Linked DNA regions of Homo sapiens: all the other regions are linked to region 7. The links are contacts of gene promoters, found by promoter capture Hi-C in blood cells and fetal thymus (Javierre and others, 2016). All regions are on one chromosome and are shown on one strand. Each heading gives the region's core, a stretch centred on a gene start or on the middle of the fragment in contact. The rest is flanking DNA. Distances are from core to core; before and after follow the strand shown.

Region 1 (2,700 bases), core at 128-2,627, 630 kb before region 7:
ACAGACTGAGAATCTACCACTTACATAGTAACGTAACCTGTCAGCCACTGGGAATACAAAATGAGTAAGGTTAAAAAGACAGGGTCTCTGAAGAAAAGCAGAGATTTCAGCACCAAATAAAACCAGTCAGCTATATACAGATATGAATGCTACAGACACAGGGAATCCTGATCACAACAGGGCATCTGACCAGTTTCTTACCGTGGACAGGGTAAGAAAGTGTGATTAACTATGATTCTTAACTGGCTGAACAATAGGATCCAAAGAATGTTTATTCTTCCTCTCTTCTAGGAAGGAGGTGTTAACATGCCTTAGAGTTTCGGGTTTGACCTGTCTTGTTCCAGTATCAATTACTTGGGGGAAAAAAATCGTATGTTTAAAAATTTGCATAAGACAAAATAGTTGATGTGAAAATCAAGATTCACAATTATCTTAAAGAGTAAGATCATTAGAGAAATCATTACAGAATTTAAAGAAAGCAAAAGATATAAGTGAGGAAATTTATTCTCTTATAATTTACTTTCCTAGTCATGTGATATAGCAGATAATTTGGAATCCTCATTGTATTTGAGTATTCTGCTTTTTTGGTTCAAATTTGATATCAAACTATTTTTTACTTTAATTGATAAATAAGAACAGTATATAAAAGGATTCAAATTTATCTTAATATGGACTTTAAATAAATCACTTTCTCTCTATATTCCTGAATGAACAAATTTGTTTTATGATCTATGGTCCTAATTCTTCATAGTTTAAATTTTATAATGTGACATTATCACATATCACTACTACCACTTATTCAAAGTCTTTACTAGATATCTCCTGTCACTTGTGCTTGTACCATTACAAATTGCTTCCTGTGGCCATAAAAAGACATATTTATAATTCCTAAAGTAGGAAATGGAAAAAGAATCACCTTTTTAAGGCAGGTGGAAAGAGGCCAAATATATTCCTTTAACCAAAAAATATGGTACTAAAATACATCTCATCTGTTGCTAGTCCAAAGTATTAAACACTAGCTATTCTATAAAGAATTTCCCTTTCTCCTTTTCTTTCAGATTTAAGAAGCTAGACTACACCAATTTAACTAATAAGCATGATTACTTGTAGCAGAAGTGTTGGAATAAACTATTTCAAAAGATAAGAATCCTAAGTATTATGTATTAGCTTTCCTAAACATACTGCAATTGCTAAATTATAGTTTACTCTAGCAAAATAGGTTAAATCATTTCATGGAATATGCTATGTTCTACACCTTGGCCACATTTAAGAAATTAAATAAGCAAAAAAGTACAAGGACCAAAGGTTTAAAAACGTAATATTTTACCATAAGAACTAATTTTCACCCATCTCTTATTACATGAAGACAAGGTATAAATTAATTACTATACCAGAAAACAGCAAATAGAACACCATGTAAAGGCAAAATAGCAATTTGTTTTCTACTTACATTCTCAGAGGATTAACAATTTCTGTCCTCAGTAGCTCTTGGGTTTCACTATAATATTCTACATCGTTCTTTTCTTTGGGTCTAAGTAACACAGTGTCCAGAACAGAACTAAAAGCAAATAAGCTGCAAAAGAAAAAGGATAATTTTCTTCATGCTGTAAACATATTTTTCAAGAAACAGATTTTTAACAGAATTAGAAGAGGAAAATAAGTAAAGTCTGGAGAACAAATAACATAACAATTTGTGTTTTTCATTAACACAGGTACCAGGACCCCTGTGAAGATACCCATGGTTCAATCATCAGGACCTACAGATCCTTCCATGTTAAGGACAACACCAATAATACTGAGAAAGCAAACGGCAGATTGGCAGTGTTAAAGGATAACAACGTGCCAACAGAATATTAAGAAAGAAAACTTCTTTGCAAAAGTTGATAGAGAGACTACAAATATCAGTCAAATTACAAACAGACAACAGAGGACAGCATTTGGAAACGACTTCCCGAGGCAAGCACTATTCAGTGCCCCACTTCCCTCTCCCCATGCCCCTTTGCAAAGATCTATTACATTAATAAATTTCTTTAAATGCTAAAATCACTTATGAGTGACTAACAGGCCAGGTGCGGTGGCTCATGCCTGCAATCCCAGAACTTTGGGAGGCCGAGACGGGTGAATCACCTGAGGTCAGGAGTTTGAGACCAGCCTGACCAATATGGTGAAACCCCGTCTCTACTAAAAATACAAAAATTAGCCAGGCATGATGGAGTGCACCTGAAGTCCCAGCTACTTGGGAGGCTGAGATAGGAGAATCGCTTGAACCCGGGAGGTGGAGGTTCCAGTGAGCCGAGATCACGTCACTGCATTCCAGCCTGGGCGACACAGCGAGACTCCTTCTCAAAAAAATAAACGAGTGACAGCAGTAACTTGCTGTTATCAAAGAAAAAGAAAATTTAGCTAATATAGATTTTTATCAGGAAATCTAAAGAATATTATATCAATGCTACAAGGTTTGTTTTTGTCAAAGTATTCTGCAAATAAAATGGCCGCCACTTTATTCTTCTTCCTACTTTAAAAATGTTAACATCCCATATTAACTTCCTAATTCTTATCATATGGCTACAGAACTGGCAGGCTACTCTCAATTTAGCCCAGTCTACAATCCTCAGAGCCTAAAGATTCTTGGTTCAATTTCCAGAGCTTAAAGATCCTTGCAATGTTAAGGCTGGGCGTGGTGGCTCATGCCCGTAATCC
Region 2 (2,700 bases), core at 61-2,560, 580 kb before region 7:
TCCTGGCTTTTAAATATTAGTCTCTAGCCCAGTGCCTGGAACATATATAGTAGCATTCACTTACAGCACATTAGGCCAGGGAAAGCCTTTACTTATTGTCTGAGAAATAGATCCCTGGAAACAAGAAGGACAAATCTTTGAAGCTGTGGCTCAGCAGAGAGAAAGTCTACAACACTGGACCCAGCTGCCCAGACTCCCAAGGCTAGTCATTCTTTTTAAGGCAATGAAAGAATCTGTCAAGAATGCAATTCTTGCTTTTTTCAATACATGAAAGTCTATGGCTTTAATTATAGAGAATTGGAAACACTGTGCAACCTGCTCCTAACCTGTGTAATCTCCATTCAGAACCGCAGAAGGTCTGATCCAATATCCTTGACCTGTGAAGGCAGATGCAATTTCTAGGAGGGCGGGAGCTGACTTTTCTTTTCATTCTTCAACCACATCCCCATTCCTACACTATCTCATAGAGCAGAGAAGTTGCTGAATAAATAGTCAAGGTTTAAAAATGAAATCATTGCTCCCTACTTAAAGAGGTAAAGACTTCTTTCTTAGACAGAGAATCAGATCCTTCACATGCAGAATCATTCTCACTGAATGTCAGAATCAGAAGGGATCCTCAAAATTCTGCCATTCCTCTCTCCCGTCACCCCATTTTACAGATAGAAAAACTGAGGTTCGGAGAGCTAAAACAGGCCTGCCCAGGGGCCTTACCAGACTTCCAGGATGGTGTCATTCCTTTCAAGGGCCTGCAGGAGGGCTTCTGCCCCTAGGTAGGTGATGCAGTTATTGGACAACCTGGAAAAGAAGATACAATGGTGAGCTTCAAGGATTCTTGGTTTTCCTCTTGAAACTGTCCAGTTAAAGAGACTGCAGGAGTTAGCCAGTCTACTGAAGCCCACCTGTCCCTTAGACACATCCTGCTCATGTCTGAGATTCCCAATGAGCTCATCAACAAAGGCTCAGTACCATCAGTGAAATGTAACCGTCTCTCTTCCATTCACTAGATGAGTTTATCAAATTAAGTAGCCACTCCCTTAGGATAGTGGTTAAGTACCTGCATTTTAGTGCTAGACATCCTGGGTTTAAATCCCACCTACACCACTTCTTTTTTGATCTCGAGCAAATTAGTCCCAATCTCCTCATTGGTAAAATGGGCCTAAAAGAGTACCCGTGCCATCGAGCATAAGAATCTAAATTGTGATGGGTGTAAGCAGGCTCCTATTCACATCCACCATCCATCTCCTTGTGGCATGGGTCCTGGGCCATTAAGTCAGCCACCAGTCCCCCATTACCTCCCCACACTCTGCTTGCTGGGAAGACCCACCACTCTCTGCATGCCTAAAACACTTGCACAGTACTTGATATGGTTTGGCTGTGTCCCCACCCAAATCTCTTGAATTCCCACGTGTTGTGGGAGCGACCCAGTGGAAGGTAATTGAATCCCATCCTGTTCTCATTACAGTAAATAAGTTTCATGATATCTGATGGTTTTAAAAAGGGGAGTTTCCCTGAACAAGCCCTCTTCTCCTGTCTGCTGCCATGTGAGATGTGCCTTTCACCTTCAGCCATGATTGTGAGACCTCCCCAGCCACGTGGAACTGTAAGTTCAATAAAACTCTTTCTTTCATAAAGTGCCCAGTCTTGGGTATATCTTTATCATCAGCATGAAAACGGACTAATACAGTACTTAATTGATAGAAAATAACCAATGAGCAGTAATATTTCTATTTTCAGGGGGGTCTTTGAGGGCACAGAGACAGAGATTAGAGAACATATGAGGTAGCTGACAACAGGGAGGGGAGACAGGATAGGGCCAGGGACAGCAACAGAGGAGTCATGTGTTTCCCAGGTTGCTCTTTTGGTTACAGCTTTGCCTTCCAATAATGTCCACTCCAGGTCCTCCCCCTTTCCCACAATTTCAGGAATGTCTTACAAGTTGACCCTAAGGCAATGCCAATTGTAATTGCCAGTATTTATTGAACTTCTATTAGATTGGTGCAAAAGTAATTGCAGTTTTTGCATTGTTGAAATTTGCCATTTGATATTGGAATACATTCTTAAATAAATGTGGTTATGCTATACATCATTTTAATGCACAATTCTCACTTTATGATTTTTTGCTAATGACTTAATACTTTCTGTTTATTTTATATTTATTTTAGACTATGAAAATGATGTTAGACAAAAAGCAAATTCAAGCAATTTTCTTATTTGAATTCAAAATGGGTTGTAAAGCAGCGGAGACAACTCACAACATCAGCAATGCATTTGGCCCAGGAACTGCTAACTAACGTATAGTGCAGTGGTGGTTCAAGAAGTTTTGCGAAGGAGATAAGAGCCTTGAAGATGAGGAGTGTACTGGCAGGCCATCAGAAGCTGACAATGACCAATTGAGAGCAATCATCAAAGCTGATTTTCTTACAACTACTTGAGAACTCAACATCGACCATTCCATGGTCATTCAGCATTTGAAGCAAATTGGAAAGGTGAAAAACCTCGATAAGTGTGTGCCTCATGAGCTGAGTGAAAACCAAGAAAATCGTCATTTTGAAGTGTCATCTTCTCTTATTCTACACAACAACAGCGAACCATTTCTTGATCTGATTGTGACGTGCGATGAAAAGTGGATTTTATACAACTGGCAATGACTAGCTCAGTGGTTGGACCGAGAAGAAGCTCCAAAGCACTTCCCAAAGGCAA
Region 3 (2,700 bases), core at 140-2,639, 590 kb before region 7:
ACTGAAATTTATAAAATCAGATTCTAGTAAAAACTTTTAAAGATTACCCTTATATACATATTCTAACTTTTTTTAATTTATTTTTATTTATTTGTTTTGAGACAGGGTCTCACTCTTGTTGCCCATGCTGGACTGCAGTGGCACAATCACAGTTCACTGTGGCCAAGACCTTCCAGGCTCAAGTGATCCTCCTACCTCAGCCTCCCGAGTAACTGGTATTATAGACGCATATCACCACACACAGCTAAGCTTTCTATTTTTTGTAGAGACAGGGTCTCACTATGTTGCCTAAGCTGGTCTTGAACTCCTGGGCTCAAACAATCCTCCTGTCTTGGCCTCCCAACGCACTGGGATTACAGTCGTAAGCCACCAGGCCTGTCCCATATTCTGACACTAATAAACTTTTAAAAGTAGCGTTTCGGGCTGAGCTGTGTGGCTCATGCCTATAAATGATAGCTATGATATGGCCATATTGTGATAATGGAACATTTTACCTCTGACTCAACTTCATTTCATATATTTTTTCTGAAGATGGGCAATGTTCATCACATTAATCATAGTTATCTGATTTCTCAAATCGCAAATATCAGATATTATAATATGACTATATTAAAAATATTTTAAAAATCAATTTTGTAGCATCAAAACTTGTACTACATAGCAAGGGAATATCATGATATAACTGCATTATAATTTCTTTCTATTATTTCTTTTTCAAATTTTCATTTATTTTTATTTTATTTATTTATTTTTAAGACAGGGTCTCGCTCTGTCACCCAGGCTTGGGTACATTGGTGCGATCATAGCTCACTGCAGTTTCAAACTCCTGGACTCAAATGATCCTCCCACCTTGGCCTTCCAAGGTTCTAGGATTACAGGCATGAGCAACTGCACCTGGTCCTCATTTAAAATTTTTACAAGAATAATAATCTTTCCAATGAAGTAGGCTCATTCTCAAACCTATTTTAACTGATGGTTAAAAAACTACACAATTTCATTAATTTAAACTGAGACTTTACTTCATTATTTTAATTAATTTTCTGCTGAAAACAATACTTCCTAGGTATCCCTGTCATAAGAATGTGGCTATCTGGTTTCCAAAGACAGTACTTTCATTTCATCCTTCCTTGAGATAGAGGTATCCATTTCCATTATTCTGGGTAATGGCTGCAATTGATAGCACTATCATATTTATTTTATTCTAGCAATTAAAAAATAAATACTCCTAAAGAACCAAATTTTAGATTTAATCACTTAATGATCAAACAACCTGGCAAATCTATACACAGTGGAACACTTCTTTTAGAAAGCACTGCTAGATAATGAAGTATTCCATAATGGTAACGTTCCTAAAAGTCTCTCCCTCTACAAGCCAGCATGAGACATGTGGTTTAGCCAAGACAGGATACAGGTTAGGCACCTCCTTCAAACCAACATGACTGAAATATCTGTGTAACACTCAGTGAGGGTAAAAGCAGAGGTAGCATGAAGTGGTTCTCTTTTCTTCTTTTTTGTGGTGTGTTTGTTTTAATTCCACTTGAGGGCACTGTCTACTTCAGCAAGAATGGGATCAATTTATATTTGCCACTTATATAAGACACCTGTGGAAACCTCTATCTTGACACAATATAAACAAAACTCCTTATAAGGGCTGCCCAAACAGCTATCCAACCCCTCAATTTGGTTGGATTCCTTTAAAGGACCAAACTGAAGTGTTGGTTCTTTTTGACCAAAATGCTTTTAACATGTCAACACTTTCCACAAGAAAATGTCCTTATTTTTTTCTTGATCATTGATGTATCATTATGACTGTAAATTATTTTGCATAACTCTTGATCTGCAAGGCTGTTATTTTGTTAAAAGGCTGTATCTTATGCTTCCTGAGGTCGCGAATGCTTTCTACAGATCTACTGTCTAGAGTTTTCCCTTGCAATCAGCCATTTTCTGTGGTTTCCTGCTGTATGCATTTGACTCCTTTTACGGCCTTGTTGCTTTCCAACTTATCGCTTCGAATCAGTTCTGAGAAGCCAGGTAGTGAAATATGTTTGTGTGTTTGAAAACACAAAGCAACAATCGTGAAAAGAGGAATGCATACATTCTGAAAGGGTCTTTAGGAGCAAAGGGCACATAGGCTTTATTGAATAGAGAGTCTGGTCACTAGCAGAAGGTTAAGACAGTCAAAAAGCAACTTTCAAAAAAACGAGCTGTTGTTTTGGTTCTCTTTAAAATGTATTTAGATTTTTAGGGCCAAAATTTTTTTGAAAAAGGTAAAGTAATTCTATTTTGAAAAGAAATTCTTTTTTAAAATTCCTAAGAACAATGTCTTCAAATATTACAATCAGAAACTTCCCTGAATCTTAATAATTGCTTTATACCAACAGCTCCTACTCTATTGGTCCTGTAGCTTAACTATTCATGTCACAATTTAAAATAAAAATCATTAATGCTAATAATCTATTATTAAGACAAAACTAAATTACTATATGTGCATTAGGACATTATGTTAAATAAATTTGATTATAAGCTTGCTTTCTGAAATAATTTAAGGAAGAGAATCCACAGTAAAAATTGATATAACTGCTAGGTTTATAAAAATGTTTTAGGGTAATAAACTATAGCTTTCAAGTACCATATTTTAAAGTGAACTCTACAAGGAGTGGTAACTTTTTTCCTAACTTTCATTAGCACAAGTGGAAATGA
Region 4 (2,700 bases), core at 171-2,670, 680 kb before region 7:
CACTGCCCTGTGCAAGAGCTTTGATGTTTGAGAGGTATGGGAAAAAGAGTTCTTATAAAGACTGTAGAATTGGGTGCCCACCAGTGAATGCCAATCATGCCTTAAGAAGAGGAAAAGACAGACTCAGGGCCATCAATCACAATGTGAAGCAAAACATGAGGGTCTGAGAGCCCCATTGCCAGCATTATAGAAACTCTCATCTCCCACAGCTGGGGAGGCAGACAGCTGGCTCCCAGGCCCTGGCCTTAAGGATATGAGGAAAGGACTTAAGGATAAGAGTTGCAACTTTAAGGAAATTTAAATTCTAATTCTAAGCCTAGGCAAGTTTTCTACACCAAAGTCAGACCTCTGATGGAGAAGCTGCAGGAATCTGGAACTTGGGGTAAGTGCATTTGAGTACATGTACTTGAGAACTTTGGGTCCTCTGGGTCTGCAGAAGCGGCCTGTCCACCCTGTTAGGAGACTATCCAAGAAGCCCCAAATGAGGATTTTTATAAAGCAGCACTGGCCTCCTCCGTATCTGCTGTCACCTCCTCTCCCCGCCACCAGTCTAATCTGTAGGGCCAAGTCTCAGCATGAGTCAACTGTGTGAGGCCTGCTTAGGAATGGGAAAGTTTCTAAGTAAAAGACTCTGCAGGTACTAGTGGACATGCCCTGGCAGGACTGGGAGGGCATGCCCAGGAGTGGATCCTGAGGATGCTGGGTCAAGGTGGACAGAATTTATCACTGAATAAAGGAACATTTGTTGACAAGGGAGCCCTCTCCTTTGCCATGGAATTTAACACCCCGGCGAGGCTTCCAGGGATGGGTCTAATACATAGCTGGGATGGCTCTTAGAAGCTTGGAAAAAGCTCACATTGGCCCTCATTAAATGAAGCTGAGATGCCAGAGCTCTCACTGCAGATGATGGACGAAAGGATCAACGAAGTGGTGGCTGAATTGCAGTTCCTATGCCAAAGGAGGTCTGTTTACTACAGCAGACTAACACAACCTCAGCTATGTGGTTTGCAATTTATTTCTGATCTGCCAAACGTGTTCTTTCCAATACTGTTGTTTGTTTCCTGGGACTGCCATAACAAATTACCACAAACTTAATGACTTAAAACAACAGAAATTTATTCTCTCACAGTTCTAGAGGCCAGTGGTCTGAAGTCAAGGGGTCAGTAGGCTGCCTCTGGAGGCTCTAGGGAAGAGTCCTTCCTCTCCTGGTGGCTGCCGGCTGTCTTTGGCATTTCTTGGCTTGTAGACACATCACTCCAATCTCTGTCCTCTCCTGTATGTATTCCTCTCTCTTCTCTTATAAGGAAATTTATCATTGGATTTAGGGCCTACCCTAATCCAAGATGATCGTATCTTGAGATCCTTTATTTAATTATATCTGCCAAGACCTTTATTCCAAATAAGTCCACAGTTCTAGGTTCCAGGTGGGCATATCTTTTCTTTGGTGGGGTGGGGGCAGGTGCATCATTTAACCCACTACACGTGCCCATCACAAATGAGGATCAGAAGCTGTTTGCATCTACATCCAATGGATAATAGCATATATTGATAATCCTGCCCTGGAATATGGTAATTCTGATTTCTGCCATAATGTAGTCCATAATGTGACCTAGGCAATCTGGACACTTCACAAAGAAACTGAAATTACTTCCCTGTATCAATTTCAGCAGTGAGCTGAAATTACTTCCCTGTATGATACGTTAATTGGATCAGATGAGCAAGAAGAGACAAGTCATCGGGATGCCTGGGTAAGATACATGCTGTCCAAAGGATGGGAAGTAAGAAATCCCAGGTATGTATCAGCAAAGTTTCTAGGGGCCAGTGGTCTGCAGCAGTGGAGCATCCCTGTATTAGGTGATTCTTGTATTGCTGTAAAGAAATAGCTGAACCTGAGTAATTTACAAAGAAAAGAGGTATGATTGGCTCATGGTTCTGCAGGCTTTACAGGAAGCATGGTGCTAACATCTGCTCAGCTTCTGCGGAGGCCTCAGGAAGCTTACAATCATGGCAGAAGCAGAAGGGGAAGCAAGCATGTCACATGGCCAGAGCAGGGAGGAAGAGAGAGAGAGAGAGAGAGAAGGTGCCACAGACTTTTAAACAATCATATCTCGAGAGAATTCACTCACTGTCATGAGGACAGCACCAAGGGGATAGTGCTAAACCACTCATGAGAAATACGCCCCCACAATCCAGTCACTTCCCACCAGGCCCCACCTCCAACATTAGAGATTACAATTTGACATGAGATTTGGGTGGGCACATGCATGCAAATAATATCAATCCCCTCCAAAATAAAGTAAAGTTATTGTACTGTGCAATTCCTACCACTAAGGAAAAATCCCCAGTGCTTGGTAGACCAGTCCGAATTGAAGGACGCATACTCCAACACTGGGGGATACTGCTCTTGCCCATTCAATGACTTGTAAGGAAACATGCTAGTCTTAAGTGAGGCTCAAAGCAAGAGAGGGCTCTGCAGCAGGTCCAGGCTATGCTACAAGTTCTGTAGCTTGGACCATGTGACTCCATAGACCCCATGGTACTGGCATTAGAAAAGTAGTAAGATCTCGAATTAATAACTTCAGCCTCCACCTTAGGGAACTAGAAAAATGTGGCTCACGCCTGTAGTCCCAACACTTTGGGAGGCTGAGATGGGTGGATCACGAGGTCAGGAGTTTGAGACCAGCCTGGCCAATGTGGTGA
Region 5 (2,700 bases), core at 30-2,529, 660 kb before region 7:
TGGAGCTGCTCTGGCTTAAACGCGTCTGGCACATACAGAGTTAAAAAAAAGAAAAGTTGCCAGATTTGTACAGATCAGGAACTTTTGCTTCTCTTAGAAATTTCTGACTTCGTCTGAAAAATCAGAACATAGGCCAGGTGCGGTGGCTTACGCCTGTAATCCCAGCACTTTGGGAGGCCGAGGCGGGTGGATCACGAGGTCGGGAGTTCAAGACAAGCCTGGCTAAGATGGCGAAACCCTGTCTCTATTAAAAATACAAAAAAATTAGCCAGGCATGGTGGCACTCACTGCTACGCAGGAGGCTGAGGCAGAGAACTGCTTGACCCCGGGAGGTGGAGGTTGCAGTGAGCTGAGATCGCACCACTGCACTCCAGCCTGGGCAGCAGAGCGAGACTCCGTCTCAAAAAAAAAAAAAAAAATCAGAATATACTGGCCTGCTTCTTCCTTTCCTTTACCATATCAGCTCTCCACCAACACTCCAACCTTCTCCCTTCCCTAAGGTACCTGCCTGGCCCCTGTAGGCAAGTGAGCTTGAGAGTCCCAGTCTAGGATCCTTCATTTTACAGATAGAGGGACTGCGGTTCATAGACAGACATCTTGCCAAGGATCATGGAGTGACCAGAGTCCAGTAGCTTGGGTATGACTGGTTTCACAGAGCACCCAGCTCGAACTGGTGGCCCCCAGCGAGGTGGATCGGCCCCTGAGTGGGCACTGTCCCTGCCTGGCTCTAGCCAAGGCCTGGAGGGAAGAGACTGCCCATAGTGAACCAAAGCTCAAGGCTCAAGGGCTCCTAGACAGTGGGGATGAAAATGAGCCAACACCATGCACTGGACGTTTGCCATTGAAAGCAACAGGCTGAACTGGGTAATTCTAGATGATCCAGATGTGGGTGAAGGAAATTCTTCTGTGGCATGCCAAGGAGAAAGGGACTGGAAAAGTCTTCCCGCCCAAAATAGCATGGTGCAAAAAGCACCCAGCTTGGAAATGCCCATGTGAAATGGCCGGTGGCCGCGCAGCTTCCTGAGAATCATTCAGTCTCCCGACAAATATGGGAGGAGGCCACAGTTGGTGCCCCCTGTTCTGGTTGCTGATGAGACAGGGACAATGTGGTTTTCACCCTCTGGGGGACCCACTGCCGAGCTGACAGATGAGTATAAAGCATTGCGCAAATGCAAGGACTCCTGGAGGGGGTGTGGGGACCGTGGGCACCTCGGGCTCACGTAGAAGGAGCTGAGACTTCGTCTCTACTCAGGCAAGTGCCTGGGAATATGGCTTTTGTATAGGGACAGGCTTGACTTCCTCCTGAGTGTGTCCACCTGAGGCAGGAGGTGGCAGGTTGGTGAGGAGGGAGAGGTGGGGATGGTGCAGGCCTAAGGCCTGGAAGAGCACTGGGGAGCCGCTGAGGGACAGGGTGGAATCAGGAGCTAGAGCCCTCTTGGCTGCAGAGTGTACGGCTGAGGCCACCAGCCCTGCCAGACTGTGGAATCCTCACAGTTCAGGAAGCCCAAGGAAGATTGGTGTTTGAGTCACTTAAGGAAGGCCTGGTGTGCATGGCAGGAAGAGGCTCCTCTCCACCCAGGAAAGCCTGCAGAGCTCGGACCAAGCGCCAGCCCCAGGCGCTGGGCCTCCCTAGTCAGAGCCTCGAGCTGCCCTACAATGTCCCAGGGTGAAATGGCCCCCCGTGAACACGGACTTCCCATGCTGGGGTTCTGTTCCAGCTCTGCCTCTAACTCTGCCCGTGGGTGCAGCCCTGCCTCCCTAGGCAGCAGCCTTTAAAGTTGGAGAACTTTAGAAAATTCTCCAACTTTAAAAAGAAAGATTGAGCTGGGACTGGGAGGCTGAGATGGGAGGGTTGCTTGAGCCCAGGTTTTCCAGCCTGGGCAACATAGTGAGACAGACCCTCTTGCTAATGAATTAAAGAAAGAAAAAGAGAGAGAGAGAAAGAGAGGGAGAAGGGGTGGACCCATCTCAATGGCTCCAGTGACTGAGGTCCTTGATGCTAATGGTAGTCCAGACTAGCTTTCTACTTTCTACACTGCTTTCTGGGCTGACTTTCAGTCTTTTTCTCGACCCTGTGCTGAGCCTGGGTTTTATCAAAAAAAGGAGAAAACACACAGGCACATGCACCTTGAGCTGGAGGTGACTACTCCAAGTCACTGAACTTCAACACTACAGAAAGTTTGTCAGATCCCAGAGTGGTGGCTCATGCCTGTAATAGAGCTTCCGGATGCCCAGGCAGGAGGATCACTTGAGGTCAGGAATTCAAGACCAGCCTGGGCAACATAACAAGATCACCTTCTCTACGAAAAATTTTTAAAATTGGCTGGGCATGGTGGTGCATGCCTGTAGTCCCAGATACTTGGGAGGCTGAGGCAGGAGGATCGCTTGAGCCCAGGAGTTCGAGACTAGCTTGGGCAACATAGTGAGATCCTGGTCTCATAAAAAATAAATTCATGAATGTGTCAAAACTCATCTAACTGCTTACTTAAAATATGTGTATGTTACTGTATGTAAATTACACCTCAGTGGAGTTGGTTAAAAAATAATAATGAAAGAAGGAAGGAGTGTAAACTTTGGAAAAGTCTGCAGCTGTCTCTCCTAAAGCTAAAATCCACCAATTCAAGAAGGATCACAGTAGGGTCATGTGTAGTAGCCCCAAACTGTCAGCAATGCCCCTTTCCATCAGTATGAGAACCATAA
Region 6 (2,700 bases), core at 126-2,625, 620 kb before region 7:
GCTTCTTGATTGTATCAGGGTCAACATTCTGGTTGTGATGTTGCACACGTCTTGTTTTACAACATGTTAATGTTACCGCTGGGAAAAATTGGCTAAAGGGCACACAGGGTCCCTCTCTCTGCATGTGAATCTATAATAATCTGAAATGCTGTAAAGCATATATCTGCAAAAGGGTTTGTATTCAAAATTTATAAATAACTCTCAAAACCCAATCATAAAGAAACAATTAATAATCGGCCAAAGACTTTCACAGATACTAAACCAAAGAAGATATACAGATGACAAATATGCACATGGAAAGATGTTTGATATCACTGGTCACCAATGAAGCGCAGAGTAAAACCACAATTAGATGTTACTAAAATTTAAAAAACTGATCATACCAAGTGTTGGCAAAGATATGGAAGAACTGTATCTCTCATATACTGCTTCTGGGAATGTAAAATAATGCAACCACTTTGGAAACACAGCTTGGAAGGTTTGGGGGTTTTATTTAAGTTAACAGTCACCTATGATATTACCAGCCATTCCACATCTAGGTAAGTACCCAAGTGAAATGAAGGCATATGTCCATACAAAGATTCGTACACAAATTTTCATAGCAGCATTATTCATAATAGCCAAAAACTGAAAAAAACTCAAGTGTCCATCAACAAGTGAATGGATATAGAAACTAATATAACCATATCAACAATAAAAAGGACAACATGGATGAATAAAAAATAATTATGTCGAGTGAAATAAGCCAGACAAAAAAGAATGCATTCTGAGTTATTCCACTTTTGTAAAATCCTTAAAAATGTGAACAAGTGTATACTGATGTAAAGAAGACCAGTGGTTGTCTGAATGTAGGGGGTTGAGAGGACAGGAAGAGGCAGAGGGAGGGATCCCAAGGGACATATTTTGGGGTGATGGATATGTTCACTATCTTGATCGTAGAGATCGTCAAAAAAACAGCATTATACTCCCAACCCCCACAACTAGAACAGAAGACACAGGTTGAACTAGAAAAACCGAAATGTATAATTTTGGGGTGGTGCTAATTGATATGCTTCATCATAACAACTTCAAGAACATGAACATAATGTCAAATTAGATATGTTAGCAGTGTTTTTAACCATTTAGAACAGAAATATAAGAGAGAAACAATTTTATAACAGGTTTAAGATTCCTGCATCTTTCAATCAAAGGTATCCTTCAGAAGCCAACTATTACAAGCAATTGACTAGAAAGAATTCTTTCCTAAGCTTCCCAGCCATTCAACTGCTCTGAAAAGAATCTTTTTTCTTTTTTAAATGCTGTAAATATTAATTTTGTTTCACGGATGAAGGTAATTGGGCAAGAAAAAGAAACTAAGGAACTAAAGGAGACACTTTGACTTTTTTTTCCCCTCAAGAAAAGAGTCCTAATGATGACATGAAAGGCAGATGAAGACTCATTTAAGTAAACTAAATTAATTTTCATTTAAACAACTTTAGTTTTTAAAGTCTATTTGCAAGCTTTATTTTGTTGACAAATAAGTGTAATTTATGTATTATGTTATAAATGCTGGTATCATTCTTAATTATCTCCTATTGAGGGTTTATGAAAATCAAGCTTTAAAAGAAAAAAAAATATCATTCTTTTTCTTTCTCTTCACTGCTCTGAGCCAGCAATAATGACAATGATAACTACTGATTTAGAAGATCAAAGTGTGCCTGACAAGTGACGCCCAAGATATTCATGTAACTAATTTTAATTATCTCAATCCTCCACCAATATTTTAATAAAACAAAACCGTAAATGTTTTTAAGATAAATACTACTAATGAAGAATTCCTTGTCAGGTTATATTCCAGGAAAAATAGAAAGGGTGGTTTTTTTCTTTGCTTTGCTTTTTAAGTGCTACTGTAGAACCCAAGATAATTTACATTTCAAACCAAATTGAGATGTGGAAAAAATAGACAGAAGGAAATACAGCTCTAGAGTGTGTGTGTGGGAGAAAGCACTTCAAGTATTTATTCTACAGCCAACTGAGAAAAACAATCAATTATACATAAGCCAACTTCATAGTTCAGGTATCTCAATCTTAAATTATAATACTAAACTAATGATTTCCCTAGTCTCCTAACTTATTCAGTATAATGAATTGCATTCAGTTGTAAAATGTAAAATTCAAAGAAATGCAATTAAGGTAGGTAAAGAGAACGGTTACTTTCAATCTAAAATGCTTTTTTTTTTAATTATTTTTTGAGCTTTCAAAAGTACTCTATGGAAATTAAAAAAAAAAAAAATTGAAACCCACAAACCCACACAGGCACACCCTGGAGATATTGTAGGTTCTGTTCCAGACCACCACAATAAAGCAAATATCACAATAAAGCAAGTCACACAAGTGTTTTTGTTTCCCAGTGCATATGAAAGCTATGTTTACACTATACTGTAGTCCATTACGTGTGCAATACCATTATGTTATTGAAAATAATGTATATACCTTAATTTTAAAAATATTTCATTGCTAAAAAATGTTAATGATTATCTGAGCCTTCAAGGAGTCATAGTCTTTTTGCTGGTGGAGGCTCTTGCCTCAGTGTGGATGGGTGCTGACTGATCACGGTGATGGTTGCTGAAAGTTGGAGTGACCGTGGCAATTTCCTAAAATAAGACAACAATGAAGTTGGCTCTTTCTTTCATAAAAGATTTCTCTGTAGCATGTGATACT
Region 7 (2,700 bases), core at 54-2,553:
AGGCGGGGTGGTGGTCAAGGGTAGATGTGTTTAACTAAGGGGGATGGGAGGAGAGTGAATGGATAAAGGGGGGGGCCTGGGGAAGGTGTGGACGGTTAAGAGGGAGGGGAGGAAGGTGTGGACGACTAAGGGAGGACAGGAGACGGAGGGTGTGGACGGCTAAGGAGGCTTGGGGAAAGGTGTGAACGACTGGGGGGTTGGGGATGGCCAGCAGCACCCCCGTGCAACAGCAGCGAAGGCAGGCCGTGGGGGTGGCCGCTCCTAGACCCTCACAACCCCCCTCTGTGGGCGTGTGCCCGGCTGCGCATTCGCACCGGCCAGGCCATCGGGCCGCAGAGCCAGCACTCACCCCACGACTCCCTGGTTGTAGTTCCTCCGTTTCCACGGGGTCCCGCTGTACACGACCCCGCCGCCGTCTGCTCGGCCGCCCCCCGCGGCCCGCCCTCCGCTGGGCTGCAGCAGGCTGTAGTTGAGTCCATACGTGCTGGCCTTGTTGTCGCGCTTCCTCTTGTTGCTGCTGCCCGAGGCCGAATCGGCTGGATCGGCGGCGGGGACGGCGGCCGAAGGGTGCGGGGACGAGGACGCCGAGGGAGGCGAGGACGCCGAGGAGCCCGCCCGGCGGGCCCAGGCCCCGGGCTGGTGGTGGTTGTTGTTGTTGTTGGTCGTCTCTAGGGGCAGGAAGTCCCGCTGCTCCGCGGGCAGCGCGTGGCTGCCCAGCAGGCGCTCCCCGGAGCGATACATGCCGGCCGGGGCCGGGGCCGGGGCCGAGGCCGCGCCGCCGGGGCTGCCGGTGCTGCTGCCGCTCCCGCCGGTGGCCGTGCTGCTGCTGCTGCTGCTGCCGCCGCCGCCGCTCGCGCCGCCGCTGCTGTGACAGTGGTGGTTGAAGTAGAGGTTCCTCAGCCCCTGGGTCGTCTCCCAGATCTGCATCCACAGACTGTTGGACGGTCCGAGCTGCTCTGGCTGAAACCAGGCGATCCTCGGATCCATCAAACGGCGGCGGCCGCTGCCCCCGCCCCTCCCGGCCGCCCGCAGGGCCGCCGCCGCCGCCGCCTCAGGCGCACGCCCGGCCTCGGCTGCTGCTGCTGCTGCCGCTGCTGCCGCTGCTGCTGCTGCTGCTGCTCGGGGCCCGCCGCGGGCGGCGCGGTCGCGCAGGGAGCCCGGCCGGCGCCGGCGGCGTCGCTCCCGCCCTCGGGGGCTCCGCGGGCCCTCCCCCCCTCCCTCCGCCCCTCCGCCCCTCCGCCGAGCCCCTGTCACTGGGGTCCCCGTGCAAATGGCGGCGGCGGCGGCGGCGGCTCCACAGAAGAGCGAGCGGCGGCGGCGGCAGCGGCGGCAGCGAGACGCGCCTGCTCCGTAGCGTCCTCGCTCCTCCGGCCCCGGGGCGGGGCCTCTGCCGGCTCCGCCCCTCTCGCTCCGCCCCCCCCCCCCACCGCCCCGCCCTCACGCGCTCGCCCCGCCCCCGCTGCGCCGCGCAGCAGCCCGGGAGGCCTCGCCGTGCGTCACAGAGGCCGCGGCGCGACGGGGCCGCAACCGCCTGGCCCAACCGTACTTGCGCCATCTGTGGAGTGCTCCCACGTACCTGGGCGTCCGGGAGCTTCTGAGGCGCGCGCGGCTTCTCCGCCTCGGCTTCCCCGGTGCTGAGCGTGGACGAGGCCGCATGGAGGTTGCCGCCCGCCCCGCAGGGAGCGCGTTGTGGGAGGTGCCACTCCGCCCCTCGCTCCTCGCCCCTCCCATCCCTGTGGCCGCCGGATCCCGGGCCCTCGCAACCCTTCCTGACGTCTTGGCTTCTGCCTGCTTTCTAAAACACTTTCTTTTTAAAAAAAAAAAAAAAAAAAAAAACAGCCTATAACACTTTTTCTGGTGGCGTGGGGACACGCCCCCTGCCCGAGCGTGTGCCCCGGGGTCCTGACGCGGGCTGCGCGAGACCCTGCACGGCTACGTGTGCCCCGCCCTGCTGCGCCCTGGCCGGGGTGGGGGACCCCTCACCCCGGCCTGAGGCCACAGAAACCTGTACCCCATGCATAGCCCTGGGGGAGACCACTAAGACTGAGAGTGTGAGCCAAGGGCGGAAAGCCGCAGCCGCACACTCAACCCACTTTACAGGGACACGCAAACACGTGTAGATGCACAGAGAAGCAGACACACTCCTGCGCGGCGTAGCAAAGACGCTCTCCTGCCCTAAGGTGCACCAACAGCCTTAGAAAGCTCTTCTGAGTTCAGCATTAAATTTTAAGAAAACCCAAAACCTTTTAATCCTAAAATGAAGATTTAGCATCAGCAAAGATTGTCCACTAGGTCGTTATTTGCATGTCTTTCAAATCTCAGTGGTTAAAAAGCCAAGGAAAGGGGAATGTTAAGTATTTTAAATCAAGAGACTAAAAGAAAGTAAGTGAACAGCTTCTATGTGGGCCCTTTAAGGTTGGTCCAACGTCCAGAACAAGTCCCTGATGCCTGATATTGGCCTTCCATTTTGGGAGCTCAATATCCTGGAAAGTTTTTATGACAAATAGTGGAAAACTATCAAAGAACTAAGTGTCGCTCTACCTTTTTCTTTCTTTCGAGACTAACTCTTGCTCTGTCATCTGGAGTTCAGTGACTCATTCACAGCTCACTGCAGGCTCGGCCTCTTGGGTTCAAGCGATCCTCTTGCCCCAGCCTCCGAGTAGCTAGGACTATAGGCACGCGTCAACATGGCATAGAGAC

What was found. Contacts are between HindIII fragments. The CHiCAGO score rates a contact against its expected background, and 5 or more counts as called.
Region 1: a fragment that was not itself captured here is called in contact with the fragment with the promoter of TENT4B in region 7 in 10 of 17 cell types (naive CD4 T cells, total CD4 T cells, total CD8 T cells and 7 more); the score reaches 25.7 in naive CD4 T cells.
Region 2: a fragment that was not itself captured here is called in contact with the fragment with the promoter of TENT4B in region 7 in 10 of 17 cell types (neutrophils, total CD8 T cells, non-activated CD4 T cells and 7 more); the score reaches 14.3 in neutrophils.
Region 3: a contact is called between a fragment that was not itself captured here and the fragment with the promoter of TENT4B in region 7, in 12 of 17 cell types (total CD4 T cells, naive CD4 T cells, naive CD8 T cells and 9 more). The highest score is 30.9, in total CD4 T cells.
Region 4: a contact is called between a fragment that was not itself captured here and the fragment with the promoter of TENT4B in region 7, in 2 of 17 cell types (non-activated CD4 T cells and naive B cells). The highest score is 7.1, in non-activated CD4 T cells.
Region 5: a fragment that was not itself captured here is called in contact with the fragment with the promoter of TENT4B in region 7 in 10 of 17 cell types (total CD4 T cells, naive CD8 T cells, non-activated CD4 T cells and 7 more); the score reaches 11.6 in total CD4 T cells.
Region 6: a fragment that was not itself captured here is called in contact with the fragment with the promoter of TENT4B in region 7 in 10 of 17 cell types (total CD4 T cells, naive CD4 T cells, total CD8 T cells and 7 more); the score reaches 21.5 in total CD4 T cells.

What each region holds. Positions count from the first base shown.
Region 1 is chr16:50,783,202-50,785,901 of GRCh38, reverse strand. It overlaps CYLD (CYLD lysine 63 deubiquitinase), which reads right to left. Exons shown (of 19, transcript NM_001378743.1): 12 at 1,451-1,573. It overlaps CYLD-AS2 (CYLD antisense RNA 2), which reads left to right. Exons shown (of 3, transcript NR_187251.1): 3 at 1,713-2,043. Among named protein-coding and RNA genes, the nearest start is that of CYLD-AS2, 19 kb to the left of the region's middle. The HindIII fragment of the contact is 3,747 bases long and covers 1-2,700 here.
Region 2 is chr16:50,727,913-50,730,612 of GRCh38, reverse strand. It overlaps NOD2 (nucleotide binding oligomerization domain containing 2), which reads right to left. Exons shown (of 12, transcript NM_001370466.1): 11 at 712-795. CYLD-AS1 (CYLD antisense RNA 1) reads left to right here. Exons shown (of 7, transcript NR_184279.1): 5 at 660-770; 6 at 1,463-1,600; 7 at 2,163-2,700. Among named protein-coding and RNA genes, the nearest start is that of CYLD, 13 kb to the left of the region's middle. The HindIII fragment of the contact is 3,218 bases long and covers 1-2,700 here.
Region 3 is chr16:50,746,601-50,749,300 of GRCh38, reverse strand. All of the region lies in intron 2 of CYLD (CYLD lysine 63 deubiquitinase), which reads right to left. Among named protein-coding and RNA genes, the nearest start is that of CYLD-AS1, 5.2 kb to the right of the region's middle. The HindIII fragment of the contact is 2,275 bases long and covers 252-2,526 here.
Region 4 is chr16:50,828,817-50,831,516 of GRCh38, reverse strand. No RefSeq gene overlaps it. Among named protein-coding and RNA genes, the nearest start is that of LINC02128, 9.9 kb to the left of the region's middle. The HindIII fragment of the contact is 1,155 bases long and covers 843-1,997 here.
Region 5 is chr16:50,811,216-50,813,915 of GRCh38, reverse strand. No RefSeq gene overlaps it. Among named protein-coding and RNA genes, the nearest start is that of LINC02168, 5.9 kb to the right of the region's middle. The HindIII fragment of the contact is 5,044 bases long and covers 1-2,700 here.
Region 6 is chr16:50,767,039-50,769,738 of GRCh38, reverse strand. The region is part of intron 5 of CYLD (CYLD lysine 63 deubiquitinase); the gene reads right to left. Among named protein-coding and RNA genes, the nearest start is that of CYLD-AS1, 26 kb to the right of the region's middle. The HindIII fragment of the contact is 252 bases long and covers 1,250-1,501 here.
Region 7 is chr16:50,151,909-50,154,608 of GRCh38, reverse strand. It overlaps TENT4B (terminal nucleotidyltransferase 4B), which reads right to left and starts at 1,303. Exons shown (of 12, transcript NM_001365324.3): 1 at 350-1,303. The coding sequence starts at 987. RefSeq lists silencers at 464-633, 754-803, 984-1,083, 1,314-1,473, 1,584-1,753 and 1 more and an enhancer at 1,290-2,247. The HindIII fragment of the contact is 13,709 bases long and covers 1-2,700 here.